Linked DNA regions of Homo sapiens: all the other regions are linked to region 1. The links are contacts of gene promoters, found by promoter capture Hi-C in blood cells and fetal thymus (Javierre and others, 2016). All regions are on one chromosome and are shown on one strand. Each heading gives the region's core, a stretch centred on a gene start or on the middle of the fragment in contact. The rest is flanking DNA. Distances are from core to core; before and after follow the strand shown. Region 1 holds the start of IKZF5 (IKAROS family zinc finger 5). Region 2 holds the start of FANK1 (fibronectin type III and ankyrin repeat domains 1). Region 3 overlaps BCCIP (BRCA2 and CDKN1A interacting protein). Region 4 overlaps EDRF1 (erythroid differentiation regulatory factor 1).

Region 1 (3,291 bases), core at 201-2,700:
TTAAGATGGTTGTGAGAATTGAGATGACTCAGGTAGAACGAGAACGTGCCTACCACAGAGTATGCGGTCAATAAATTTTGGCTCTAAAACAGAGTCAAATTGTAAAACCAAAGAAATTTTCTTTGCTAAGTTATTAACCAACAATTATAAACAGTATTAAACAATAATCACTTACTGTTTTTTATTGCACTTCAGGCCTGTAAAACAGTCAAATAACATTAATTATCTCTAATAAGAAAAAGGGTCAGAGTTCTGCCTCTGGGCATAAGACTGAAGCAGCAGTTGGAAAGCCTAACTCATTAAAGCAAATGCAAAGGAAACATTAAAAGCACACGTAAGCAGTGGGAAAATTCCCAGTGAAGTGTACTGACAAATACAAGTGTATCCAAATGTGTATGTTCTGAAAAGCATGCTATATAATAGGTCCAAGGGGTGAAGAGCATAGGATGTTAACACAGGGGCTGTTAACAGTTTGTGTGGGTGCACAGATAAGAATTAAGCACAACAAGAGGCTGGTTTCAGCTTAAGTTCATGGAAGAGGGACCGGCACCGGCTCCGGCTCCCCTGGGCGGCGGTGAGTCTATCCACGGAAGATACCCAGGCTCCAGACATGAGATAAGGGGCAGAGGGAACTCTGTCCCTGGCCGGGAAGCCCGAACAACTCCGAAGTCCCTTACTACCTTTGAGCGGGGCCGCGGAAGGAAGGACAGGGAGACACCTGCTCAGAATGAGACTGGGCCTATATTTTAACTATCTTTTTTGGGGGAGGGGGTGTGAAATGTAATCACTCGGGAAAGGTGCGTTAGGGCATCAGGGAGGTGACATCTGTGCAAAATGCATCCAGAGATCCAGAGATCCAGACTCGGTGGCTCTCAGGACGCAACGGCCTGCAAAGGACATCTTGCGGACGCGACCCTCCGACTCCACTCAAGGTACTTGCTCCGCCAAAGCAGCTTCTAGACAGCCCCGACCCCCTTGCCACCAGCTGCCTCCACCAGAGGCCTGAAGGGGGTCGGGGTCATAGACTGCCCGCGGGTAAAGAGTCTGGGGACCCAGGACGTGGAGCGGGGCTCAGGCCGGCGCCCCGAGGCCCGTTAGAAGGCTCTGCCAGCTGCGATTCCAGGGGCCAAGGTCGCCCTGGGCCCCCAGGACGCCAGCCTCGAACGCACTCACCAGCCTGCTGCCGCGCAGCAACCGCACTGCCAGGCCCTCCATCCTCGCCGCAGGCCTCTCCGCTCTGCGCCTCTGGGTCTCTAGCCAGCCCCTGGGAGTTACCCGAGCAAGGCCCCGCCCACTCAGTACCCGCCCCGCACACACCCCCCCTTAATCCCTGCCCCCTGCTGCCTACGGAACCCCAAGAGAGACAAACAGGCCCCTCCTCGCTTTCGCCCTCCATCCTGCTCACGCGAGACTTGAGCAAGGCAGGGGGGCGGGAAGGGAGTCGGAGACACAACAAAGATGGCGGCGGCGACTGTGACGGTGACGAAGACGGCGGCGGCGGCGACGGCATTTAACAAGGCGGTGTGGTTTACTCCATGCAGTTGTCAGGAGGTAAGTAGCAGGCTGCCGGCTCGGACGGCGGCGACGCGGCAGGACAGGGCGGATAAGAAGGAGCGGCCGGAGACTGGAGCTGGGTTCGTGGCGGGCCGGCTGATCCGGACGGAGACTCAGTTCAGTGGAGGGTCGGGCGTGGTCGGTAGGCGGGCAGGTGATGGCCCGGGACCTCTTTAGCCGGAGGGCAGTGGACTGCGGCGCCTATGGCCGCGAGAACCCCGAGGGAGCGGGGTCTCCTGCTGTCATTGCCTTCGAGCAGGAGCTCGGAGGCTCCGGGGCGGGGACTGTTGCTTGGCTCTGACAGGTGGTTCTGCGGGAGGCGTCCCGAGGTTTGCGTCTTCACGGGGTCCCAGGGGCTGGGAGTCAGCCGGGCGCGGGTCTCCTAGGTGTTTCGAATCCTGGCGAGGATGTCGCTCCGAATCTTGGTGAGGCTGCTGCCCCGACGCCGGTCCCAGGCTGATTGTTGGGAGAAGGACGTTTAAAGCCTTCGTATTTTATCTAATGATCCTGCCCGGATCCGTCTCTACTGCATGGGCACCCTTATTTTAGGAACATGTGAGATTTGAGAAAGACATTGTAGCAAATAACTATTCAGGTTCATTCGGGGTTTAGATCTTTGGATAAACTGTGTGGAGCGCGAGTAGCCAAGCCTAGCATGCTCGATGACTGGATCTGAAGCTAAACAAGTTCTAGCAAACACTAACCACGTGGCCTGCTTAGAGTCCCCTTGATGTGCTGGTCAGAACCCGAAAGACGTGTGACAAGCGGAAGAAGACATAAAGGCGTCTTAAATTGTGTGATCTGAGGAAATTCAGTTTTGAAAGAACAGAATGTATTTAAAACAACTTTTTTTTAAACGTAGGAACTAACAATTTTAAAAATTCAATTTAATTTTGATTTATGTCGTGTTGTCACAACAGCTAAAGGTTATTATTATTGATGAGAGTTCGTTACAGTGAATTGAAATGTCTGGTGTTATTTTCCCCTAGCGGTCCAGGATGTTTCCCAGAAAACCGTAGCTGTTTTGTGTTATGATAGGATAAGAAGGATGGGATTCAGATGTGCCCTTATCGGGTGTGCATGTTTTTTTTGTTTTTGTATTTAAAGCCCTTTCCCATTTCCCTACTTAGGACTATGCGTTGTTTTTATGCAACTACAGCTGTTCAGCAGTACTAAGCTTGACCGTTTTGGAAGTGTGCTGTGACTAAATGAAGTTAATCTTAATTTCTTTAAACTGAAGTTTAACTTAAATTTAGACATTAAAAATCTTGCCAAAAACTAATCCACCAGTGAGAAAACGGTAGTCACACCAGTTATTCTTTGGTGATCCTATGGAGCTTTTGCTGAAGTGAAGCTACTGCTTTGTTCTTTGATTAATCTGTCAGTTCGTTTTCTTTTCAGCTAATGTAATGATAAGATTGGCATAAGTTACTAGCTCATTCAACCTGTAGATGCTAATTAAGTTTTTATCTTAAAGGTTTTGATTTGTGGTGTGCTGTTTGTTTTTTATGCAGACCTCTGTATGGCTTTTCAATTTTAGTTGAAATTCTCTCTCCATGGCCTTTTGGAGTCCCTTGCTGTATCTCCGAAGTAAATTTCAATTACTCTACATTTCATCAATGTTGGAGTGGCAAGAAAAAGGAGGAACAGATTTGGGGTGAAAAGGTTAGATTGTATAATTTCTCTTCTGGATTTCTTTCAACATGGTTTTACTTATGTTTTATTTTTATGTTTTGA
Region 2 (3,291 bases), core at 379-2,878, 2.9 Mb before region 1:
TTTTTCGAGATGGAGTCTCGCTCTGTCACCAGGCTGGAGTGCAGCGGTGCAATCTGGCCTCACTGCAACCTCCGCCTCCCGGGTTCAAGCGATTCCCCTGCCTCGGCCTCAGCGTCCCAAATAGCTAGGACTCCAGGCACGCGCCACCACACCTGGCTTTTTTTTTTTTTTTTTTTTTTTTTTTTTTTTTTTTGTATTTTAGTAGAGATGGGTTTCACTATGCTGGCCAAGATGGTCTCAATCTCCTGACCTCGTGATCCGCCTGCCTCAGCCTCCCAAAGTGCTGGGATTACAGGCGTGAGCCACCGGGCCAGGCCAAGTTGCTGTTTTTAAAAGGTATATTTCAACTCACTTCTCTAAGGCGGGAATATACACAGCCTGCCATCAGTTTGACATAAAACAAAAATTTTAGCGTTCTTGTATGCTAAATTTCTTTTACTAGGTTAAAAAAATGTAGAATCCAAAGAGCTGTAAATGCAAATGACAAATACTGTACAAAATCTATCAAGCAACTATAAGTCACAACTTGCAAGCTTTCTCCTCAGCAAATGAGTTAAAAGGAAAAGTATTTGAAACTTTCTTGGTGGAAAACGAATGACCTTTAAAAATGCCAACATTTTCCCCAGAGAATAGATTTGGTCTGAGTTCTTCATTTCTGAAATTGTACAAGATAAGACGACTTGGTTTGAGAGTCAAACTGCATCCTTCTATAAAGGTTTTAGATAAATTTTAAGTCTCCATACAAAACACTCCCCTTATTTTGAGAACAAAAGGAACAATAAGACAGCTTAGGCGGGGCAGAGAAAGAAAGGCCTTGAAACAAAGTCCCTGGAAAGGTAAAAACAACAACAAAAATAGTAAGTTAGAGCTCGTGTTTAGATCTGATAACTCAAAACTGCACAACTTTTGCCATACATCGAAAGCAACATGGGAAAACAGAAAAAGAGATTACAAACATTTTTTGAGTGTCCTAACTTGTAGAACCCCTAAGAATGAATCAAATACACTTGGACAAAGCTCTTCTTTTCTCTCTCTCTCCTTCAAGTCGCAGACTAGGGGTGTGGGGCGGGGGGCGGGGAGTAAGACGGGGTCTCTAATAAATACAAGACCCAGCCTCGGACGTGTTTAATTGCTGACATTTTAGAAGAAAAATGGGCTACTTACAATTAATGAACCAAACTACCAAACTAAAATCATGAGTAGGAGGAGGAGTAAATGGAACCGTCCGGGCGAAGTTTCAGGAAGACGCACGCTGGGGTCGCTGCGCCCTTCCCCACCCATACCTCGGGGCTCTCCAGTCGCTCCCAGCCCCCAGCGCGGACTCTAGGGCGCCGGCGGCCCAACCATACAGACTTGGCAGGATGTAGCCCCCTTCTCCCCTCTCCAGGAGAGAAAAGCGCGAGGAGACGCAAACCGTATTTCCGTGTCCGAGCGTTGAAACCTGCGGAGTCGCGCGCGGGGCGCCCACACTCGTTCCCGGGGAGCCCCAGCCCGGTCGCCCGCCCCGGTCCCAGCTCCAGCCCGGGCCTCCCTTACTCTGGGGCTCCATGGTCGGCTGCTCCCCGGCCTCCGCGGGCGAACCCCCGGACTCCTAACGCCTCTCAGCCAGGGCCGGCGTCGCTACGGTTGCCCTGACAACCCGGAGGCGAAGTGGGCAGAACTAAAGGGACGGCGAGCGGGAGGGACCAAAAGCCGCAGGAAGTGAGGGAGCGCGTGAGGACCCGCGCGTCGCCGGGGACACTGAGCGAGGGTAGCGGCCAGGTCACCGGCTGAGGACACTGCTCCTGAAGCCCGGTCAGGCGGTCGCGCCCTCCCTGGCGGCCCCCGCGGCCCCGCAGGACCTGTGCCCCGACGTCGCCGACCCGCGGTCCCCGCTGTCGCCGACCCGCGGCGTCCGTCGGGCGAGTGGGCCTGCCCGCGGGTAAGGCGCCGGCCCTGGGCCGCCCTCCCGGGAATCGGGAGCCGCCGCTGCAGGTAACAGCGGGGCCCCGGCGGCGGAAGGGGTCGGGGGTCGGCGCAGGGGCGGGCGCGCCCCGAGCCGGGTGGGCGGCCCCGGCGCACCTGTTGTAGCCGCCTGGGGGTCCCCTGCCCGCAGTTGGCCGTGGACGTTCCCCGCCCCGACTCCGAAACGCCGAGGGCGGCCTCCGCGCCTCCTGCTCCGGGAGCCGCGCCTCAGCGGGAGGACGGAGCCCTGCGGGCAGCCCTCGCACCAGGGGCTCCCTCCGAGCCCGGGCATGGGCCGGGCCTGGGGCGGTCCCTCGAGCCCCCCTGACGGGAAGCGTGGAGCAATGCGAGCCGCCGCCGTCGTCGCTGTCGTCCCCAGTGAGCCTGGCGCGTCTCCTGAATCGCGAGAGCCAGGAGCACGGTTTTGCCCGGCTTTGCCCCGTCATCCCCGTGTCCCATTTCAGGCAGGGGGCCCGGGTTGGATCTTTCTCGCTGGCTTCGTTTTTTGTGTGTTGATTTGTTTCAGTCCTTCGCGTTTCCGGTTGAGTTACGGAATCTGCCCACACGTTTTGTGGCCAAACTTTGTAGGGCTGTGAAACAATGTAACATTATCCCACACAATAGTCTTTCATACTGGTTTTAAAACACAGTGATTCAGGGTTTGCTTTAAGGAAGCTTTGAGGATCACAAGAGATTATTATCTGGTAGGTTGTAAAAATTCAAACAACCAGGAGAGTATCATAGGTTCCGGAACACCAGAAGGAGGAAAGAAAAATGGAGACGAGAGAAAAAGGATAAGCAAGAAAGTGCAGGGGCATTAAGGGTGTGGGGGGCTGCAGGATTGATTTGGTATTCAGGTCTGGAGATTATGGCCCCTCTATTAATTCCAACCGCTGCTCCAGACAGTACTTGAGGGAAATGGAAGGAAGAGCCGTTTTGGGGGTCATGGAAGTGATTACTAATCTTGCCAGTAGAAAGATTTCCACTCCATGGATGACAAGGACACTAAGGAGAATTACTTTCCTCTTAGGGAATCATTGAGAGGTTAATTGAACTTGAGAAGCATATATTCTGTGATGGAAACTGACATTTATTATATTCTTCCAAATTAGGTTTTCCCCCTCTCAGACTATATGGGGACTTTTTCAGATTAATTGTCAAAACAAGAAGGTTTATGTGTGGATATTGACAAGCAGCGTGATATATACAGAACACATAATTCTTAAGCTGAAGTATTAAGGTAATAAATTAAGGGTGGAAAGTAAACACTTCATGGAACCTTAACTCCCTGTTCCTGAAATTTAGAGACAGGGGCTTCATTTTTAGACAGAAAGTATAAAGATCAGC
Region 3 (3,291 bases), core at 280-2,779, 2.8 Mb before region 1:
ATTTCTCAAAAGTAAATACACTGGTTATTTACCATCCCATGATGAGTGGTAAGAGAGTCATAATTAACATTCAGACACACTGGAATGGCAACTCTAGTCCATCTCATAAAGATAGATGGAAGTAACTGGACAGTTTATTTCAAAATTAAAGACTAAGTGTAGCCTGCATCTTATTCTGAGGTGGGTAAGCAGCTGGTTTACTTTTTATTACAACTCATCAGAGAATCAATAAAAAGAGATGAATCGAAACAAAATAAAATGTCAGTAAATGCCCTCAACATTGAGGCAGCAAAGCCTGAGAATATCCCCACTACACAAGTAGCAAAGATAACAGCTGCAGAGAGACAGCACAAACAGCTCCTGCATCAGTACCAACATCAGGACTGCAAAGCCAGATGATTCCCTAAACCACAGGGAGTAAACAACTTTAACTGGGTACAGACCCAACACCACCACCTTCATATTGAAAAAGGATTACAATAAGATTTCACAAGAGCACTTATCCCTATAGTTAATATCACTGTTTAACATAAAAGACATTTTCACCATGCATTAAATAAAAGTGGTTTTGGCCTAAGAAATAACCATTCAGATGCCATCCAGTGAAACCAACCTTTCTTTCAGTTAAATTTAAAAGGCTTATGAAACCAAAAACCTCATCTTCATCCATATCATCATTGCTGTCTTCTGAAACATCCGTTTGCTATTTTAAAAGAAAAAATATTTAAATGTTATATTTAGTATAATACCAAGAGTATAAAACCAAGTCTTGGGATGTAGGCCTCATTTATCTTTTCACTTTTCAAAAGCAAAACTTTGTTTTACCACCGCCATCTTAGAAAGCATTGTATTTTAAATACTGTCACAGTTTTACCACCATCATCTTGGAAAGCATTGTATCTTAAATACTGTGTGACCTTGTTCATTTCGCTTTACCTCGACTCTGTTCCTCTTTTCAGATTCTGAACAGATTGAAATTTCTTTGTACCAGATTAAGTCATTTTCTTTTATCAGATTCTCAATATAATACAAATCCAGAAGAGATAAACCTCATGAAATAAAGCATTTTCATTTGTTTTCTACACAATTAGGCTGGAGCCAAGCCTTGCTTCTCTGCTGGCCCACAGCATTGTTTCATCTAAAACTCATGAGTTTCCAGAACACTTGTCAGTCTTGACCATTAGTGAAGCTAGGCAATGCTTGAGGGCCACTTACACCTATCACATTAGCAAGAGAGAAGGGGAAAAAAGAGAACCCCCTGCCCTTTGTTCTATGATCCTAGGGACTGGCTCCACCGAACACTATGGGTAGTCCCTTTACTAAGAACAAGAAGTCTCTATCCTCAGGACACCTCAAGTGTCTCTGGAGAATCCCAAGAAGCCACAGTTACAACTGCAGAGCTATTGATGTGATTATCCATTTAAAGAGTGAATCCTGCCATTAGATAATAACCTCTTTCAAGGATAAAAATAACTGCTTCTCCTCCATATCCATTAGGTCTTCTAAGACACGAATCAGCTAGAGATCACATTTATTTGATGAAAGGGCAGGTGGTCTGCTTTTTCCCATTGCCCTAATAAAAGGAATGCCCCATAGGTTTAATTTCTCATTTTCTTTACATTGAGTGCCATAAAGTTACTAATATTGTCAGAAGCCTTGAAAAGTGTACACTGTATTTAGTAACAAGTATGTTGGTGACCCTATCACTCAGTGTCCGAATTTTAGTGGTGTAAAAGTCAGATAAGAGTGTCTGAAGAATGAATAGGAGGACAGGAAGTAGAAACCATGACTTAAGATTACTTTTCAAGAATTTTGGCTCTGAAGGTGATGTACTTAAGAGTGGAACATTAGACTGAATGGAGCTTTTGTTTGTTGTGTTTTTCACAACAGGCTAGGGAACAGGTGCTAGGAACAGGAAAAAGACATCAACAGTGACAGCTACACATATGTAGCACATGTCAGCTGCCAGACACTGTTTTAAGCAGTCAGCAATTCATTTTGTTTACCCATGCACTCTACAAGATCGGTGCTAGTACCATCCTCATTTTCAGAGACAGAAATGGAAACAGATTAAGGTACTGTGGCAGACTGTATCTTTCACAGATGGCCCCAATGGATCTCTCCTTGGACATGCTCTTCTGACAAAGTGACCTAGGTACTTTTCTCATGGAGTGGTGGGATCAATGTGCCCTCCCCCTAGATAGAAATTTCTATCTGTAAAGACTAAGCAAATGGTGGAAATGGCACTATATCACTTCTGCCTGCTTCTTTTGGGCAGCTTGCTCTTGGAAGCAAACCAATGTGTGACGAGGCCCACATGGAGAAGAACTAAGGCCCCTGGTCCAGAGTCCCAGCTAAGCTCCCGACAGACAGCTAGGGCTAACTTGCCAGTCATGTGAGTGAGCCATCTTGAAAGGGAATCCTCCAGCCCCTAGTCAAGCCACCCCAGCTAACATGATGGAGCAGGAGCACAGATGAGTTGTGCCCACTGAGCTCTGTCCAAACTGTAGATCCATTAGCCAAATAAATGACTACTGCTATTTTACGACACTAAGCTATGGGGTGGTTTGTTATACAAACAACAGATAACCCAAAGAACCACCAGATGATAAGCAGCAGACCCAGGGTCTAAACCAGTCCTTATTTTGTTGAGCTCTCTACAACATCTATCTGATAAAGATGACCATCCCCTCCTCCTTCAAATGTTATCTTTCTTGCTGTGTATGACATCACTGCACTATTGTTTCTTCTACTTCTCCTGTCATCCCTTTTAATCTCCTTTGCTGGCTCTGCCACTTATATTACTCATCGAAGTATTCTTGGTATTACTAAGGTGTCTGTCCCTTCCCTCCCTGCGCAATCTCAATCACTTCTACGACCTCAGTAACATTTACGACCAACTCCCAAGTCTCCAGGGCTCCACCTGCTACCCGGTATCTCACAGGTAACTCAAACTCAAAATGTACAAATCCAAATTCACATTCCCCCTCCTAATTTGACCTTCCTCCATGTTTGTTATCCTGTTTGCTCAAGCTAGAAACCTGGAAGTCATCCTTGACTCCTTTTCCTCTCACTTTCAGACCCAATCAGGGACTAAACCTCATCATATTTCATCTCCCAAATATTTTCTAAATGAGCCCACTTCTCTCCCTCTCCATTGCCCCCACCTGGACTACTGCATTTAATAAGCTTGGATTTCTGCAATGACTTCTGATCAGTCTCCATTCCTCCAGTAATACTGCTTCCAATTTGAGCTAAACAGAATAAAGAACTTTTTTTTTTTTTTTTTTT
Region 4 (3,291 bases), core at 481-2,980, 2.7 Mb before region 1:
TTCCCTGTCTAAACCAATTCAACATCCTTATCTCACTAAATGGCACCACCATTATTCTAGTCCCTAAACCCTGGAATCTCCTTTGACTCCTGTTCCCCTCCGCCTTGCTAACGCTTTATCTGCCTCTCTCTTTTCTCTTGCTCCCCACTCCCACCCCAGCCTCTCACTAAATGTTGCCATTTAGGGAGATGGTCTAACAGTGGTTTTCAATCAAGACTGCAAACCAGAATCATACAGCAGACTTTCAGAAAAGACAGAAGTACACATCCTACTGATACTAGAACACTGGGGGCCCAAGCAAGTGCATTTTTTCAGAGACCACAAGTGATTCTGATGCACAACCAGGTTAAGAATCACTGGGTTGGAATATAACGGTTCAAAGCATGTCCTCAGCCAGAGAGAGGCACAAAGACTGGCACCGCCACTCACTACTAAGTTGACCCTGGGCAACTCACTTGAGCTCCTTGATCCTCAGTCTCTCTTTCCATCAAATAGGAATAACAGCATGTGAGGTAGCTAAGAAGATCAAATAAGGTAAAGCATTTAAAGCATTCAGCAAAGTGCTTGGATAAAATAAGCACTCAATAAATGCTATCTATTCTTACCATTGTTGATTCTTAATAGTTCCTCTCTAGTGGAAAGTACATTACACTATCTGCAAAATGGTACAATGCCTCTGGTTTTCTTGTCTCTAAGTCCTCCTTTTCTGTCCTATATGCTATCTCTAAATTAATATTCTAACACAACAAATTTCCCCTCCTAGATGCAAAGCCTTCTGATTCCAGATTACCAACTGAACCAAGTCCATACTCCTTAGCTCAACATTTAAGATCTCCATCATTTGACCATGACTTTTCCAACCTTACTTGCAGCTATTCTGCTACATAAATCCTGTGTTCCCTAGCTGGATTTATTATCAATCCTTTCATGTATTTACACTAGACTTTTAAAATCCAGCTCTTATTTTTTGAGATACTAGCTATCATTCAGGACTCAGTTAAGATGTCCCTTCTTCCACAAAGTCTTTCCTCCAGACCTGAATGGAAGTGCTCACCCCCTTCTCTGATGATCTAGATTTCTGTGTGCTACACTTCTAATTCTTATCTGTCTCCTACTGTTCTCTCTGCATATTATTTCCCATTAGATTATCTCTTTCTGAATAACAACCAAGCTTATTCTTTGTTTTCCTTCAACAATTATTTATTGTTTAAATTCTCAATTTTTTTATTTTTTTGAGACAGGGTCTTGCTCTGTCACTCATACTGGAGTGCAGTGGCACGATCATAGCTCACTGCAGCCTCAAACTCCTGGGCTCAAGTGATCCTCCTGCTTCAAGCCCCCAAGTAGCTGGGACTACAGACATGTACCACCATGCCCAACTAAGTGTGTGCGTTGTTTTTCTACAATTAGGGTCTCACTACGTTGCCCAGGTTGGTCTTGAACTCTCGGCTTCAAGTGATCCTGCTGCCTCAGTCTCCTGAGTAGCTTGGGATTACAGGAATAAGCCAACACGCCTAGCTTCCCCCAACACTTATAATGGGGATACGTGTCTTCTAAACAGAATATGCTCAATAAGAATTTGCTATATAAGCTATCCACCATATGCAATTTTTACAAGACCTTTCCCTAAAACTTTGCATGTACTGAGTAGATATTTGCATAACGAAGAAACGCCTCCATTGTGTAGACACTTTCAGTTAATTATTAATGAGAGCTTGGCATTAAAATTAGAGTTCTATGGCTACAAATGCAGGTTTTCATATATTTATGAACTTCCTCCAAATTACCTGTAAAATTATACTTCTATAACATCTACAATTCTGTTATCACCAACTTAAATGTACACTCAAATTCAGTTTATTCACAGCTATCTTCCCTGGCAAAAATGCACCTTAGTACTTCAGGGCCGTAAAGACTTTGGTGAGGAACTCTCTGTACCAATTTGCATTTGAGAGATCAGAAAAATCACACTGTATCTTACCTGTACAATTCCATTTACATGAAAACACATCACAAGCTCTGGCACATTGCATATCAAGTTGTCCAACCAATAGTCAATTCCAGTTAGCACATTAATTGGTTTGTTGTTATCCCTAAAAATATACATTTCTAGTGTTATTTGGTTTAATTAAGATGTTCCTTAATTAATCATCTGAAAGTTATTTCACCATTTAAGTATCTTAAGCTGTCCTCTCTAGATAGAAAATGCCATCTATGCTTTCTTTTCTGATAAGATATGCACATGCAGCTCAGTGGTTGTGCTATATTTAACATCTTTCCAAAAGCTTGCTTGTATTTCTAACTGACATTGGTAAGTTTTCAGTAAGAATAGAAGACAATATAATAGGAAAGGACGGTGAGCCTACTGCCTGCTCCTCACACACAACTTGAAGAAAGACTGAACACCATACAAGACCATGCTTAAGTTGGAATTCACATTGGCTAATATCAACAAATACACGTGGAGCATTAAGAAAAATGCTCACAAGTAGTTAGTAGGAATCTAACTAATTAAATAAACTCTCTTGAATATTCTCACAAGTTGTAGATTCAGACCTAAGACTAGGCCAGTCCAACAAACCTCTGGCTCTATTCAATGAGGTCTAGAATGAAGACTCAGCTATAGGCCTGCCTTTCAGCATCTGCTGACAGTAGCTCCTTCCTTAATGTGGCCATTTCAACTGGCAGGGGAAGGAGGGAGGGGAAAAAACCTAGAGAAAGAGGAAGATGCCCAAATAGATGGAACACTGATTCTTTTTTGAGACGAGTCTTGCTCTTTCGCCTAGGCTGGAGTGCGGTAGCATGATCTTGGCTCACTGCAACCTCAGTCTGATGGAACACTGATTCTAAAGGAAGAATTTAAATACCATAAGCTTGAGGAGGGGTATGATGTTAGTTCACCTGAGACGTAAGCTGACTGCTGGGTATCTGCCTCCTCCAAATATGGGCATGTTGGAGCCGACCAACATATGGATATCTTCAAATGTCCATAGAATATTCCGAACAAAATCATTTTTAAGACCCTGTGATTTAAAATAGGGAGGATTATAATAAACAGTCAATCTGTAATTTCCCCCCATGATCCATAAAAAGACTAGAAAAAGGAAGAGACAAAGAAGACAAAGTCAGGCCCCAGAGCTAAGATCACAAAGATGCTTAGAAAGCAGTTTCAGGATCAAGTGGAGTTTTTCCCTATCAATTTCGACTTAGGCTAGTTTTGAAATGACAAAGTAGACTGGGGATTTGCTGTCACCTTGGACACCATGGAAAGCATACCTGACTGTGCTCCCC

Evidence for each region. Contacts are between HindIII fragments. The CHiCAGO score rates a contact against its expected background, and 5 or more counts as called.
Region 2: a contact is called between the fragment with the promoter of FANK1 here and the fragment with the promoter of IKZF5 in region 1, in 1 of 17 cell types (monocytes). The highest score is 7.2, in monocytes.
Region 3: a contact is called between a fragment that was not itself captured here and the fragment with the promoter of IKZF5 in region 1, in 4 of 17 cell types (neutrophils, monocytes, total B cells and 1 more). The highest score is 17.5, in neutrophils.
Region 4: a fragment that was not itself captured here is called in contact with the fragment with the promoter of IKZF5 in region 1 in 3 of 17 cell types (total CD8 T cells, neutrophils and total CD4 T cells); the score reaches 5.8 in total CD8 T cells.

The regions. Positions count from the first base shown.
Region 1 is chr10:123,006,954-123,010,244 of GRCh38, reverse strand. IKZF5 (IKAROS family zinc finger 5) reads left to right here and starts at 1,450. Exons shown (of 5, transcript NM_001372123.1): 1 at 1,450-1,551; 2 at 3,069-3,219. It overlaps ACADSB (acyl-CoA dehydrogenase short/branched chain), which reads right to left and starts at 1,239. Exons shown (of 11, transcript NM_001609.4): 1 at 1,174-1,239. The coding sequence starts at 1,215. RefSeq lists enhancers at 1,334-1,663, 1,944-2,173. The HindIII fragment of the contact is 4,856 bases long and covers 1-2,733 here.
Region 2 is chr10:125,894,901-125,898,191 of GRCh38, reverse strand. It overlaps FANK1 (fibronectin type III and ankyrin repeat domains 1), which reads right to left and starts at 1,628. Exons shown (of 11, transcript NM_145235.5): 1 at 1,537-1,628. The coding sequence starts at 1,549. It also overlaps a transcript of DHX32 not described here. RefSeq lists silencers at 1,058-1,352, 1,444-1,583, 1,744-1,823, 2,044-2,123. The HindIII fragment of the contact is 2,086 bases long and covers 536-2,621 here.
Region 3 is chr10:125,827,974-125,831,264 of GRCh38, reverse strand. It overlaps BCCIP (BRCA2 and CDKN1A interacting protein), which reads right to left. Exons shown (of 7, transcript NM_078468.3): 4 at 614-703. Among named protein-coding and RNA genes, the nearest start is that of BCCIP, 6.1 kb to the right of the region's middle. The HindIII fragment of the contact is 3,325 bases long and covers 1-3,191 here.
Region 4 is chr10:125,729,090-125,732,380 of GRCh38, reverse strand. It overlaps EDRF1 (erythroid differentiation regulatory factor 1), which reads right to left. Exons shown (of 25, transcript NM_001202438.2): 7 at 3,277-3,291; 8 at 2,902-3,023; 9 at 1,982-2,093. Among named protein-coding and RNA genes, the nearest start is that of EDRF1, 11 kb to the right of the region's middle. The HindIII fragment of the contact is 1,114 bases long and covers 1,174-2,287 here.